Linked DNA regions of Homo sapiens: region 1 is linked to region 2. The links are contacts of gene promoters, found by promoter capture Hi-C in human tissues and cell types (Jung and others, 2019). All regions are on one chromosome and are shown on one strand. Each heading gives the region's core, a stretch centred on a gene start or on the middle of the fragment in contact. The rest is flanking DNA. Distances are from core to core; before and after follow the strand shown.

Evidence for each region. Contacts are between HindIII fragments. The study calls those that stand out against the background at their distance.
Region 1: a fragment that was not itself captured here is called in contact with the fragment with the promoter of IL22RA1 in region 2 in 1 of the 25 tissues and cell types used here (aorta).

Annotation. Positions count from the first base shown.
Region 1 is chr1:24,765,303-24,772,188 of GRCh38, forward strand. The region is part of intron 1 of CLIC4 (chloride intracellular channel 4); the gene reads left to right. Among named protein-coding and RNA genes, the nearest start is that of CLIC4, 23 kb to the left of the region's middle. The HindIII fragment of the contact is 4,036 bases long and covers 952-4,987 here.
Region 2 is chr1:24,141,879-24,148,647 of GRCh38, forward strand. IL22RA1 (interleukin 22 receptor subunit alpha 1) reads right to left here and starts at 1,262. Exons shown (of 7, transcript NM_021258.4): 1 at 1,162-1,262. The coding sequence starts at 1,204. The HindIII fragment of the contact is 7,521 bases long and covers 1-6,172 here.

The sequences.
Region 1 (6,886 bases), core at 1,720-4,219, 630 kb after region 2:
CTCAATAAAATGTTTGCTGAAGGAATATATAGAAGCTTTTATTTTTTTCCGTGCACAGGCTTAATTTCAGAGGAGGTTGGGAGGAAAAGAAGAACTAAAAGATCACATGATTGGGAAAAAGCAAATGCCTAACAAGAAGCCAGAGAAATAGGTCGAGAGGGTGATGCAAATGACTGGGCTCAGTTCATATTTTAGATTGAAATAAACAGATTTACTTGTTTTTCCTTGCAAAGTAAAAAAGTTTTAAGGGAGAGTCTGCAACTGTGTTTTGACCCTGAGCATGTGGCTTGATAGCCATTAAGATTAGGAGTGTTGAGAGCAGCTATTGTCCTGATGACTCAGCAGGAACCCCTGTGTTAGATTATACCGTTGCCTCCGTATTGCATGTAAAAAGTTCTTTATATCTTTTGAAATATTTGAGATCATAGATCCCAAAATCAGAGCCAGGGATGATTGTTTACTTGAAGTATCATTTGTATTTTTCTTTCCTTCTTTTTCTTCTTTCTTTCTTTCTTTTTTTTTTTTTTGAGACAGAGTCTCGCTCTGTGACCTAGGCTGGAGAGCAGTGACGCCATCTTGGCTTACTGCAACCTCCACCTTGTGGGTTCAAGCAATTCTCCTGCCTCAGCCTCCCAACTAGCTGGGATTACAGGCGCCCACCATCATGCCCGGCTAATTTTTAAAATTTGTTTAAATTTTAATTTTAGTTTTTTTTCTTTTGAGATGGAGTCTCGCTCTGTTGCCAGGATGGAGTGCAGTGGCGCGATCTCAGCTCACTGCAGCAGCCTCCACCTCCCGAGTTCCAGCTATTCTCCTGACTCAGCTTCCTGAGTAGTTGGGACTATAGACGTGCCACCACGCCCAGCTAATTTTTGTATTTTTAGTGGAGACAGGGTTACACCATGTTGGCCAGGATGGTCTCAATCTCTTGACCTCCTGTTCCACCCACCTTGGCCTCCCAAAGTGCTGGGATTACAGGTGTGAGGCACCACGCCCGGCCTATATTTTTAATAGAGACAGGGTTTCACCATGTTGGCGAGGCTGATTTTGAAATCCTGACCTCAAATGATCCACCTATCTTGGCCTCCCAAAGTGCTAGGAATATAGGCATGAGCCACTGCACCTTTTTTCTTTTTTTTAGATATCAGGTCTTGCTATGTTGCCCAGACGGTTTTTTTTTTTTTTTTTTTTTTTTTTTTTTTTTTTTTTTTTTTTTTTTGAGACGGGGTCTCACTCTGTCACCCAGGCTGGAGTGCAGTGGCACAATCTCAGCTCACTGCAACCTCCGTCTCCTGGGCTCAAGTGATTCTTGTGCCTCAGCTTCCCTAGTAGCTGGGACTACAGACATGTGCCACTGCAACTGGCTAATTTTTTTGTATTTTTAGTAGAGACATAGTTTCGCTATGTTGGCCAGGCTAGTCTTGAACTCCTGGCGTGAAGTGATCCGCCCACCTTGCCCTCCTGAAGTGCTGGGATTATAGGTGTGAGCCACCACGCCTAGCCAGTATTTCTGTCTAGGTGCTGAAATAGTTTCTTTTGGAATTGAAGACCATTTGAATTAATATTTCAAGTAGGCAATTGAGTCATCATAATGGAAGACTGGATCTTTAGTATTATGCTGTTAGAGTATGCAGTGTCCAGTCTTTTGGCTTCCCTGGGCCACACTGGAAGAAGAATTACCTTGGGCCACACAAAAAATACACTAACAATAGCTGATGAGCTAAAAAAAAAAAAAAAAAAAAAAAAGAAAAAGAAAAGAAAAACCAAAAAAACCTTATAATGTTTTAAGAAAGTTTATGGATTTGTGTTGGGCTTCATTCAAAGTGGTCCTGGGCCACATGTGGCCCACGGACCTCAGGTTGGACAAGCTTGATGTAGTGGCTAAGAGTGTGGACTCCCGAGCCATGTGGCCTGTGTTTGAATCCTAGTTCTACCCTTCACTAGTTGCCTTGGTGTCCCCACTGGGGTAATCTTGGGCTTTTGTAAAGATTATAAGAGTTAATATAAGAAAAGCCCTTAGAGTCTAACTCATAGTAAGCCTTGTTTGCTTACTATTTTGCCTTTAGGAATGCAGAATTAAGACCATGTTGGCTTGGCCTATGGTTAGTTTATTATATTCAATATACCATATGTGGTTTCAACCTTCAGGATTAGAAGCATCTGCCAGACTGCCACTACCACCAGGTGGGAACTTTTCATTCTTTATCAAAAGAGCAGGGTTAGTACAAAAAAAGTTCAAGGTTAAGCTTGAGTTTGCTCTTGAATTAACTTCAGTGAACCCTGATCCTGTTGACACTTACTAGGTAACTAAAGGACAGTCAGATTGGACTCTGCCATCTTAGTCCATCGGCCTCAGCAGCTCTTGCTGGACTTGTAGCTAAAGCTTGAGAGTCCATTAGTAGTGAGAATGTTTTTCTTTTTTTCCTCTCTCTCTTTTTTGTTAATGTGAAAGTGCAAAAGTAAAGAGGAATAATCTATGACATAGGATCTTATTGGTTCTGTACAAATACTCTTAATTAAAAATTTTTAATTAAAATTATATATATATATATTTTTTTTGGCATGGAGTTCCGCTCTGTCGCCCAGGCTGGAGTGCAGTGGCATGATCTCGGCTAACTACAACCTCTGCCTCCCAGGTTCAAGCAGTTCTGCCTCAGCCTCCCGGGTAGCTGGGATTACAGGCGCTTGCCACCACGCTTGGCTAATTTTTGTATTTTTAGTAGAGACGGGATTTCTCCATGTTGGTCAGGCTGATCTCGGACTCCTGACATGAGGTGATCCGCCCTCCTTGGCCTCCCAAAGTGTTGGGATTACAGGTATGAGCCACCACGCCCAGCCAAAATTTTCATTTTTTTAAGATATGGGGATCTTGCCATGTTGCCCAGGCTGGTCCCAAATTCCTGAACTCAAGTAATCCCCTTGTGGTGGCGTCCCAAAGTGCTGGGTAAAAGTACTTTTGAATTATGGATTTTGGCTTCCTGTGCTACCAAATTTCACTATTTCTTGATTTTTGTGGTATTCACCTTTACAACTGAACAGGTCATATATTAACTAGCCTTTATCTAATGCTTTCTTTAAAGGAAATGTAGACGTGCTTATATTTTTAACACATCTACATTTCTCTTAAAGAGAAGAGATTAAGCTCTTTTTATTTAATTTGTCTGGAAGAAGTTGAGATAGTGTAGATCTACAGGTTTTATATTTAGTAATTTTTAAGGAGTAAAAATGAAGTCTTCTAATTTTTCTAGACTCTATCTAAGATTATTGTTTTTAGACTTTTTCATCTTATACCACAATGAGATGATAAAGCTTAAAACATTAACATGTCGGCCGGGTGCGGTGGCTCACGCCTGTAATCCCTGTACTTTGGGAGGCTGAGGCGGTCAGTCAGGAGTTCGAGACCAGCCTGGCCAAGATGGTGAAACCCCATCTCTACTCATAATACAAAAATTAGGAGGCATGGTGGCATGTGCCTGTAGTCCCAGCTACTCGGGAGGCTAAGGCAGAAGAATCACTTGAACCCAGGAGGTGGAGGTTGCAGTGAGCCGAGATTGTGCCACTGCACTCCAGCCTGGGCGACAGAGTGAGACTCTGCCTCACCAAAAAAAAAAAAAAAAAGAAAAAGAAAGAAAACTTTAGCATGTCTGTAATTGGTAGATATAATCTCTATCATTTATTTAATGATAATTAAAAATAGCGGGGCATGGTGGCACATGCCTGTGGTCTCAGCTACTAGTGGGGCTGAAGCAGGAGATTGAGGCTGTAGTGAGCCACTCTGATTGCACCACTCCACTCCAGCCTGGGTGGCAGAGTGAGACTCTGTCTCAAAACAAAAGAAAACAAACAAAAAAACATAATGTAAGAATCATGAAGTGACTTTAAAATCTTTATTTTATAATAATGTTATAAGTTTTCTGAAGCTACTTAATTTATCACTATACAGAATAAACAGATATATAAAAAATGATCAGTAAGTTTTTGTTTCCCTACTAAAGCCAGAATAATGGTCATGAGGTAATAGATAGCATTGGGTGCTTACTATGGGCCAGGCACAGTGTGCCAGCCGTTTGCATGTGTTAGCTAATTTAATCCTCATATAAACTTTGAAATAGGTGCTATCAATACTGTTTAACACATGAGAATTAGAGAGATCATTGTTTGGGTATGGTTGCAGGGCCAGTAAGTAGCAGTACTGTGATTTGTACTAACGTCTTTGGGATTTCAGAACCTGAATCAATAACTTTGTTTATGTTATTTTTCTCTATTTATTTGAAACTTGAATGCTTTCCTAACAGAATTTCTTATGTTCTGTTTTCAGTCACCCTGAAAAAAAAATTCTGAGAATATTTAAGGATATTTCTAAAACATACTAACAACTAGTGAGCCTAGATGGTTCATTAGATGACTTTGGTTGCTTTCAGTTCTCTTGGTAAAATTTGAAAGGCAACTAAAATTTCCATTACCTCACCTCGTTGCATTTTGGGGGCCTGGTTAATTAGTATTTTATAAAGCACTTTAGAGGGTTTATTTATAAACTTGTTAAGGAACCTGACTTGAATGTCTTTTTTTTTTTTAAGGCAGAGTTTCACTGTTGCCCAGGATGGAGTGCAGTGGTGTCATCACAGGTCACTGCCACCTTGACCTCCTGGGCTCAAGTGATCCTCCTCCTTTAGCTCCCTGAGTAGCTGGGACTTGCAGTGCCACCATGCCCAGCTAATTTTTTTTAAATTAATTTTTTTGTGGAGATGAGGTCTCACTGTGTTGCCTAAGATGGTCTTGAACTCCTGGACTCAAGTTATCCTCCCACTTTGGCCTCCCATTACAGGCATGAGCCATTGTGCTTGGCCTCACATATTTTGATTTTAGGATTGTTTTCCAATTGAGAAATGTCTAAATGGTTCAAGTTTAACAAAAATCATATACTAATTTGTTAATTATTTTTCTGTGAGTTCTTTTCTTTCTGCCCTCTCCCTTTCTCCCTTCCTCCCCCTTCAGAGGTTGGTAGAAAAAAAAAAAAAAGGCAAGGAAGTTTCTTTTTGTGGAGAGAGGAAATGACTGTTGGTTCAAGACTTTATCCATATTAGGTATAAACTAAATATAGACGTGTAATCCAGGAGTGAAGTCACATCTATAAAGTTTCTTAAGCAAAGCTAATGAGATCAGCCAGTGCTTTTGGATCTGTTTTTTCCCCCCTTGCTTTTGGCTCACTTACCAAACTGATTAGTCTTATAGTCTGCCTGCCTTTGCTTCTTTAAAAAAAGAATAAAAAAATTATAAGGAATCTTTCTGTAAAACAAGCACACAAATTTTTAAAAAGTTGCTTTGTATATGAAGCATAGTCACTTATGCCTCCCTTTGAGGGGAGGTTATAAATAAATTAGCTTCTTTAATTTCTTGACCTTGTCATTTTCCTCACACCAATTCTTCTTCTTTTTTTTTTGTTTTTTGAGTTGGTTTTATCCTTGAGTCTTTGTCACATATTTTTACTGTGAGGCTGGACTCATCTTTGTAAGTTGTAAGAAACGTGTTTTACTTAGTATTTTCTTGGTTTATTCCATTTTTAACCATTAAAGCAGATCTCAGTATGGCTAAATGGTAATAGGATTTCTTCTGATTGGCTGGTTAGAGAGATTGTAATAGAACGGAATGATGGAATAAATCTGCTTCTGGTCACAGCACATGTCCTTCTCAAATAAGGACTTTGAAAAGTCCCCCAAAGCATTCTTACAATAATTATTTCCAACTCTTGTGTTCCTTCTTAGAGCCCTTTGCAAGCATTCCTAAACACTCAAGCCCTTACGAACGTGCTATGCTTCTGAAGAGAAGAACTATATACACACATCTGTGGCGCATCTTACTATAAATACTTTGGAATACAACTAATTGTGTAAAAAGTTTAGCTTAACATATTTCGGGGTTTTAGGGATCAGTTCATGAAACTAAATGTTCTCCAAGCCTAAGTTGGAATCTGTTCTGAATCCTTCTCTGACCATGTTGTTCCCTTAGCAGAACTACTCTTTCCTACTGTTTGGGGCAGTTTGTGCATTTTTATATTCTGCCACTCATCTGAATCACCTTTAATTACATTTTTGTTCCAGGCTAGAATGTAAATTCCAGGAGATCAAGGATAAGGGATTATTTTCTTTTTTCTTCTTTTTATATTTTAAATTTAAAAAATTATTATGTTCTTCTAAAGACTAAGGGACTATTTTCTTCATCTTTTATATCTACCCCCTACCACAAACCTTTATATATAGGAGATAATTCATTAATTCAGTAAGCATTTATTAGTGTTTTTTGGCAAATTGGTGTGCATAGTATAGGAATATAAGCATGTAAGAGAGAATATATTAAATATTTTCTGTTATTGTGTTCTATATTACCTCATAGTAAAATACCAGAGTTAAAAGTAGTATTCAGTTATTGAACTTGAGACATGTAATTGGGGTTTTGTAACTAGCTACTCACTATATAGCTATTGGTCTAAACCTAACAGATTGGTTTAGAGAACTAGAATATTATGTAACTGGAAGGCCAGGTTCAAGTCCTATGTGTATCCTAATTGATCTGCTACCTCATCTGTCAAGTGGGTGTATTTCTTGGAGGTGATGTTCAGTCCAGTTTGTATTATTTTATATGCCAAGGTAGCCTTAGGCTTGGCTTAAGCTTAGGCTTAGGCAGAAAGTTGAGCCCTGAGATTCCAACGTCAGATCCAGAGAATTAAATTCTCATAATTAGAAGCAATCTATTAGATAACAAAAATAGAGCCAATACAAATTCTTCATGATAATGGAGGCAGTTTGCCAAAGAAAGAAAAAATATTTCAGGAGTGAATTCTTTGACCCGAAAGAATATATTTTATTTCCCAGGTGAGCTCCTGAAAGAA
Region 2 (6,769 bases), core at 12-2,511:
CTAAGGAAAAATACACAAACAAGAAACAATTCCACATGCTCTGGAGTCAGCCTAAGATTGGGGGGGTGAGGGCCCGGTGTGTGCAGCGCGAGGCAGCTGACCCTTGACAATCTCCTAAGGGCTATTTCTTGGGGTCCCCCATCTCAAAGGGCTGGGAGCCTCTAGGATTTCTAACCAGTATGGCTGAGGGTCTAAAGGGACGTGTCTTGGTGCCTCAAGGGGGTGCCTCACATCTTCCTGGAACGCCCAGCTTGATGCTGGGAAGCAGACTGGAGGGGGTCCCACAGAGCTGGAAGCCCTGGAGACGCAGGCAGCCCTGGCGGGACAGTGGCAGAGAAGGTGGGAAGCTCTGCCTTTTCGTGGGCCTCGTCCTGCACTTGAGCAAGGAGGGCCTGGCCGAGGCCATACCTGCTCGCCATCCTCAATCAGGACTATGCTTTGACTTCCTAAGGAAGTTCCCTGAATTTCATGCAATGCACCAGGAGAGCAGAGAGAGAGTCTAGGGTCTCATGTAACGTTCTCCATAATGATGAGCCCCCCACTCCGCTCACTTTATTGGCTTTGAACACTATGCCCTTAAGACCTGTTTCCAAATGAGTCCTGTGTCTTAAGACCTATTAATGTAGCAGACCTGGCCACTCTAGGAGAAAATGCTCTTTCAGATCTATGATAACAAAAGGGGCCAAAGAGGCCCTGCAGGGGCATGGAGGGAGGCAATAGTGAACTCAAGCTTCGTTTCCCCCGGTCCTTCCTCCTCCTCCCCTGTCAGGCCAGTGCCAAGTGAGAGGCAGAGGAAGGATGGTACAAACTGTGCCGACACCGTTTGAGGGACCGAAGGATGTCTGCCTCCTCCAGGCCAATTCTCCATTCACTGAGGTGCAGCGATCCAGCACCCCCAGTTCAGACAGCTGGCTATATCCCTCAAGACCCGAGGGTCCTTTGGGTCCCTGGAAGAACCCAGGGTCTGAGGCACCCTCTCATGCCCCCAGCAAACTAAGCTGGGCATTTGCTTCTCCGTGAACACCCGGCACCCTGCTCAGCCCTAGCAGGGGAGAAACTGAAACTGGCTATGCTCGGGCTGGGGAGGGTGCTGGGGAGATGACCCTGATCGTTGGCCCCTGGGATAAGGGAGGTCTGACCACAGGGTAGATGGGCACTCACCAGCCAGGGATCCCACAGTCAAGATGGTCAGCAGCGTCCTCATCGGGGCTGGCACAGAGCCCTCCCTTGGCCTCTACTCTGCCGTGCACAGAGAGAGGGCTGGGAGTCTTGGCGCCCTGGCAGCTGGCTCCACCCGGGCATGGGGCGGGGAGAAGGGGGTGGGTGGGACCTGTGCCGGTGGGGAGCAGGGGTACAAAGGTGTCCTGGCCCTGTGTGCTCTGGAATTCCAGGTTCTGGGCGGGATCTAAGGGAGTTCCCTTCCGACTTGCAGAAAACAGCAATAGTAACAGGCTGGCTTGTTTATCTGGTCCGGTGGCTGATTCATCCCAAGTGGTTTATCAAGGAGCTGAGGGGCAGAAAAGGCAAGAATAATCCACGATATGCAGCCTTATCAAAAAGCAATTTGGCACTGTGGATCAAAAGCCTACACCACATACATATCTTTTGCTTTAATAATTCTATTCCTAGGGGATTTACCCTGATGAAAATAACTGGACAACAGAGGGGGAAAAAAAAGGTCCCAGAATGTTTCTTGCAGCAAAGGAAAAGCTGTGACTCCTTTGCTTTTCTGGCAGGAGGAGATTGAGGGCACCCGATGCTCCTCCTTGATCCTCCATATCAAGGCAGGTCCCCACGCTTGGGGTGGGCTTGGGAACAGCTCTCCCCTAGAGAGGCCGTTGGGGGTGAGGAAGCCCAGCCGCTCTTACCTTGAGCCTTTGGGTCTAGGATCTGCAAAAGTTTAGAAAAAAAATGGAACTCAAACTTCAGTGATTCTTTCTGCTGTGCTAGAGATGGGGCTGAACTTCATGAATGGGGCTTTGGTTCGGGACGATGAAGATTCAGGCTGCTCTCCCATCATTTTGCCACGTAGGGCAGGATCTGCACATGAGCTTCGTGTGAATGAAGGGACAGGTGTTTAGGAAATGGTTTTCTCCTTCCTGCAGGGCCTGGAGAAGGTAGAAGGGCCCTGGGGCCTGGACTCTGGTCAGGGTGGACACGATTGGAGGGTCCTGCCCCTGGGGAGAGTTTGCCTGGCCCCAAGCACACAAAGGCAAGCGAAATTTTAGCAGGGATCCTGCCAACGGGTTGGGTGTAATGGGCTGTGATATGCTGAGATCGGTGTTTAAGTTTTTCTTTCCTGAATTGTAATTGTTATCAGCCCTGATTGCTAAAGTTTGTTTGACAAAACAGCCAAATCTAAGCTGTGCTTTGGAGGAATTAAGGTAGGGCCCATGCCAGTCATTTCCTGAAACTGCAGGAAACTACATTTTCTAGACTCCTTTATCAACTGCTTTCTGATAGGTTTAGCCCCTGGGGGAAGACTGGGGAGGCAGAGATCAGAGCATTTCTCCCCTCGTTTTCTGTTTGAGTGGCTTCCCCAGCAATGGCCATATCCCTCTGCAGTTCTGGCTCCCTCTGGACAGTCCATCAGCCAGGCAACCCCTTATGTCTTTCTTGTTCCTGTTTGGAGGCCAGCTCCTGGCTCTGGCAACACCTTCTCCCCTCATCTTTCCTTTCAGTTGGTGGGATGGCACAGCTTCCTGCTTTGGGGAAATCTCTGAACTGTCTGTCCTGATTAGTGTCCCAGCTCCTTCATCCTCTGGGTGACGAGCTCCTTTACATTAAAGTCCCTTGGTCTGAAAGACTGGAGAGGTTTCTGTGCTACTGAATGAACCATGATGGATAGAGGGTTTTTGATGACTTTGATGACAAGGCAGTGTGGGGAAGCTACAGCGAGAAAAACAGGTTACAAGGGACGCTTAGGGAGAAGAGCAGGCTTTGGTCCCAAGTGGCTGGCCGAGAGGACAAGACGCAGCCCCAACAGGTCTGTGGAACACGAAAGTGTTCCTTGGGGCCTCTCAGAAGCACTGGAAGAAGGAACTTGATGGAGGAAAAGGGCATCCTGTAGTTTCGAGGGCCTGTGGTTATGTAGGAATTAACGGGAAGGAAGACACCTGGATTGCTAAGGAATGTGGGAACACCCAGACTTCATTTCTAACAGTTTAAGAAAAAAATAGGTGGGGCGTGGTGGCTCATGCCTGTAATCTCGCACTTTGGGAGGCCAAGGTGGGCAGATCACCTGAGATCAGGAGTTCGAGACCAGCCTGGGCAGCATGGCGAAACCCTGTCTCTACTAAAAATACAAAAATTAGCCGGACATGGTGGCGGGCACCTGTAATCCCAGCTGCTCGGGAGGCTGAAGCAGGAGAATTGCTTGAGCCCAGGATGTGGAAGTTGCAGTGAACCGAGACCGCACCATTGCACTCCTGCCTGGGCGACAGAGCGAGACTCCGTCTCAAAAAAAAAAAAAAAAAAAAAAAAAAGGAGAAAAAAATGAAAACAACCTCCATGTCTGACAATAGAGGTTTGGTTAAAAGAATAATGGTATGTCCACCCAAAGCAAGACAAATGCAGCTTCCAAAATAATGCTGGAGAAAAATGTTTCGTGACCTGGTAAAGACTCATCATATTTTTTCAAGTGAAAAGAGGCATAACATAACCTATGTACAGTACCACCCTGGCTAAAACGCACACCTGCACACGCAGAGCAAACTGCGTGTCTTCATGGATATAGATGAAAACACTAGGGGCGTTATCTCTGGGTGGTAGTGGAATTGTAGGTGATTTTTCTTTTCTTCCCTTTGCTTATCTGCATTTCCTAAAGTTAATATAGGAAATACACTAATTTATATTAAGGGAAAGCAAGGTTACTAAACATAACAAATCGGCATTAAAGACAAGCCTTTGTTGGGGCTCTATCCTCCTCCTGGAATGCCATTTCCACTCCCTTAGCCAATTCCCTTTTCCTCGAATCTCACCAAGACAGTTTTCTTCTGCGATATGGCCCTTCTTGATAACTCCAGCCCATAACATCTCACTTTGAAAGTCCTTCCAGAGGCCAGGCACCGTGGCTCATGCCTGTAATCCCGGCATTTTGGAAGGCCAAGGAGGGAGTATCGCTTGAGTCCAGGAGTTTAAAGCCAGCCTGGGCAACATAGTGAGACACTGTCTCTATAAATAATAAAAAATTAGCCAGGTGTGGTGGCACATGCCTGTAGTCCCAGCTACTTGGGAGCCTGAGGCAGGGAATTGCTTGAGCCCAGGAGATCAAGGCTGCGGTGAGCCATGACTGCACCACAGCACTCAGCCTGGGCAACAGAGTGACACCTTGTCTCAAAAAACAAACGAACTTAAAAACAAAGTCCTTCCAGAATATGTGGTCTGGCCTGCATTTTGGCATTGTCCACTATGATACTTCAGCTGTGTTACATGTTCAAGAATGGAAAGGAGGCCAGGCGCCATGGCTCATGCCTGTAATTCCAGTACTTTGGGAGGCTGAGATGGGCTGATCACTTGAGGCCAAGAGTTCGAGACCAGCCTGGCCAACATGGTGAAACCTTGTCTCTACTAAAAATACAAAAATTAGCCAGGCATGATGATGCACACCTGTAGTCCCATCTTCTCGGGAGGCTGAGGCAGGAGAATCAGGAAGAATGAGGGAGAATCAGGAAGAATGAGGAAGAATCTGGAAGAATGAGGCAGGAGAAGCAGGGAGTCTAGGGTCCCTAGACTCCCGGCGGAGGTTGCAGTGAGCCAAGATCGTGCCACTGCACTCCAGCCTGGGCGACAGAATGAGTGAGACTCCATCTCAAAAACAAACAGGCCAGGCTCGGTGGCTCATGCCTGTAATCCTAGAACTTTGGGAGGCCGAGGTGGGCGCATTGCCTGAGGTCAGGAGTTCGAGACCAGCCTGGGCCACATGGCAAAACCCCGTCTCTACTAAAAAAACAAAAAAACAAAACAAAACAAAAAAGGCTGGGCATGGTGGCGAATGCCTATAATCTCAGTTACTCGGGAGGCTGAGGCAGGAGAATTGCTTGAATCTGGGAGGCGGAGGTTGCAGTGAGCCGAGACTGAGCCACTGCACTCTGGCCTGGGTGACAGAGCAAGACTCTGCCTCCAAACAAACAAACAAACAAAAGAATGAACAGGAGAGATTCGAGTTGGAGTGGAGGTGAAACATGAGCACCGTCTTCAAATATTTGAGGGGCTATTGCATGGAGAAGGCTCTAGACCTTTTTTGTATAACTACCTCTAAAAGGAAAACTAGGGTGGTCAGGGGGAGACATATTAGAGAGGCCATTTTTTCAATTTAAGGAAATCACTCTCGCTATGATGGTGTGGCTGCCTTGAGAGGTAGAAAGGTCTTGGCTGCTGGAGGTGTTCACAACGAAGCTGCCTTCAGTGGCAGAGGTTCCCCAGATAACCTCGTTCTCTGGGCTCCAAAGTTGGATGGTGCTCGTCAAGCATTCTGATTGCAAAGAGCCCGCTGGTATTCCTCTGTACCCTCCACATGGCTGAATGTAGAGCAGGTATCCAACATCGACTTACAGCGTTGACCTTCAGAGCAGCAGTTTCGCCTTGCTGATTCTCAGACCTCCAGGAAAAGCACTTGTTTTCTGACAAATTTCTCCAGTGCACCCATGCACTGTCTTGCCTCTGAGAATCCCTTTCCACCTCCACTTTCCTGTCTCACTCCGATTCATTCTTCAGGCCTCTGCTTAAATTCACTTCCACCAGGAAGCTTCCCCTGTGTGAGCTGCTCCCTTGGTTGGGTTGGGAACACCAGCTCTGTGTTCCCATCTCCTAGTATGCATTGCATGGTGCTTTCCCATTCCCCATGGCACTGACTACAGGGACAAGGCCTGGAGCTCGCTCTCCTGGGTATCTCAGTGTCTAGTAGGAGCTGGCACAGAGCAGGTACTTCGTAAGATTTGCTGAATGAATGAGTGTGCCGGAGAAAGCTGGCCAGGGCTTTAAGACTGTAGGGAACATCCCCAAGCTATAGAAAAAGCACATTTTACAATGAACTACTCGGGAATGTGATCTGCTCCTGTCCCTTCTCTCAACACCCAGGAATAACAGAAGCACAACATCAAAAGGCAGTGGGCTGTTTCCCGGAAGTCTTCAGGGAGTGTGGAGTGCTGTCTCCGTGGTTGATGACTCTGCAGGGGCAGGTCCTAGAGGGGTTCCTGCTCATTCCTGGAGAGCAGGAGCAAGGAACGAAGCCTGAGAGCCCATCTGACTCCAAGGCCTGGGCTGTGTCAATCAGGGACATTGAGTACATGGCCCAGGTCCGGAGTCTGGGTCTGGTCACAACCTTGCACCTGACTTCAGGTGACTATGAATAGTTCTTGTCCCCTCTTGAGGTCTCAGTTTCTCTGTCTGTAAAGGAGTCTTGGTCTAGAAGTCTCCTAAGGGCCTCTGCAGCTTGCATGGCCTCTGCTTCCATGTCACTTTGGGGTTGGAAACCTCCCCTGACATCCCAGAATTCCCTTCATGACCAATGTCATTCACACAAACATAAAGTCATTGTAGAATTTCCTGACTCTACTTATAATTTCAGCTCTCTCTTGGGAGTTTGAAGTTCCAGAAGCTTATTACATGCCTATAAGGCATGTATAAGGCCATGCTTCTTCATAAAAACATTAAGAAGATCATGCATTTCCAGCCAGGATGGGGGAGCACTTTCATAGGCCCCCACAGGAGCCAAGGGAAGTGAATGGAACATGGGCTTTGAGTAGACAGACCCGGTCTGAATTCTAGC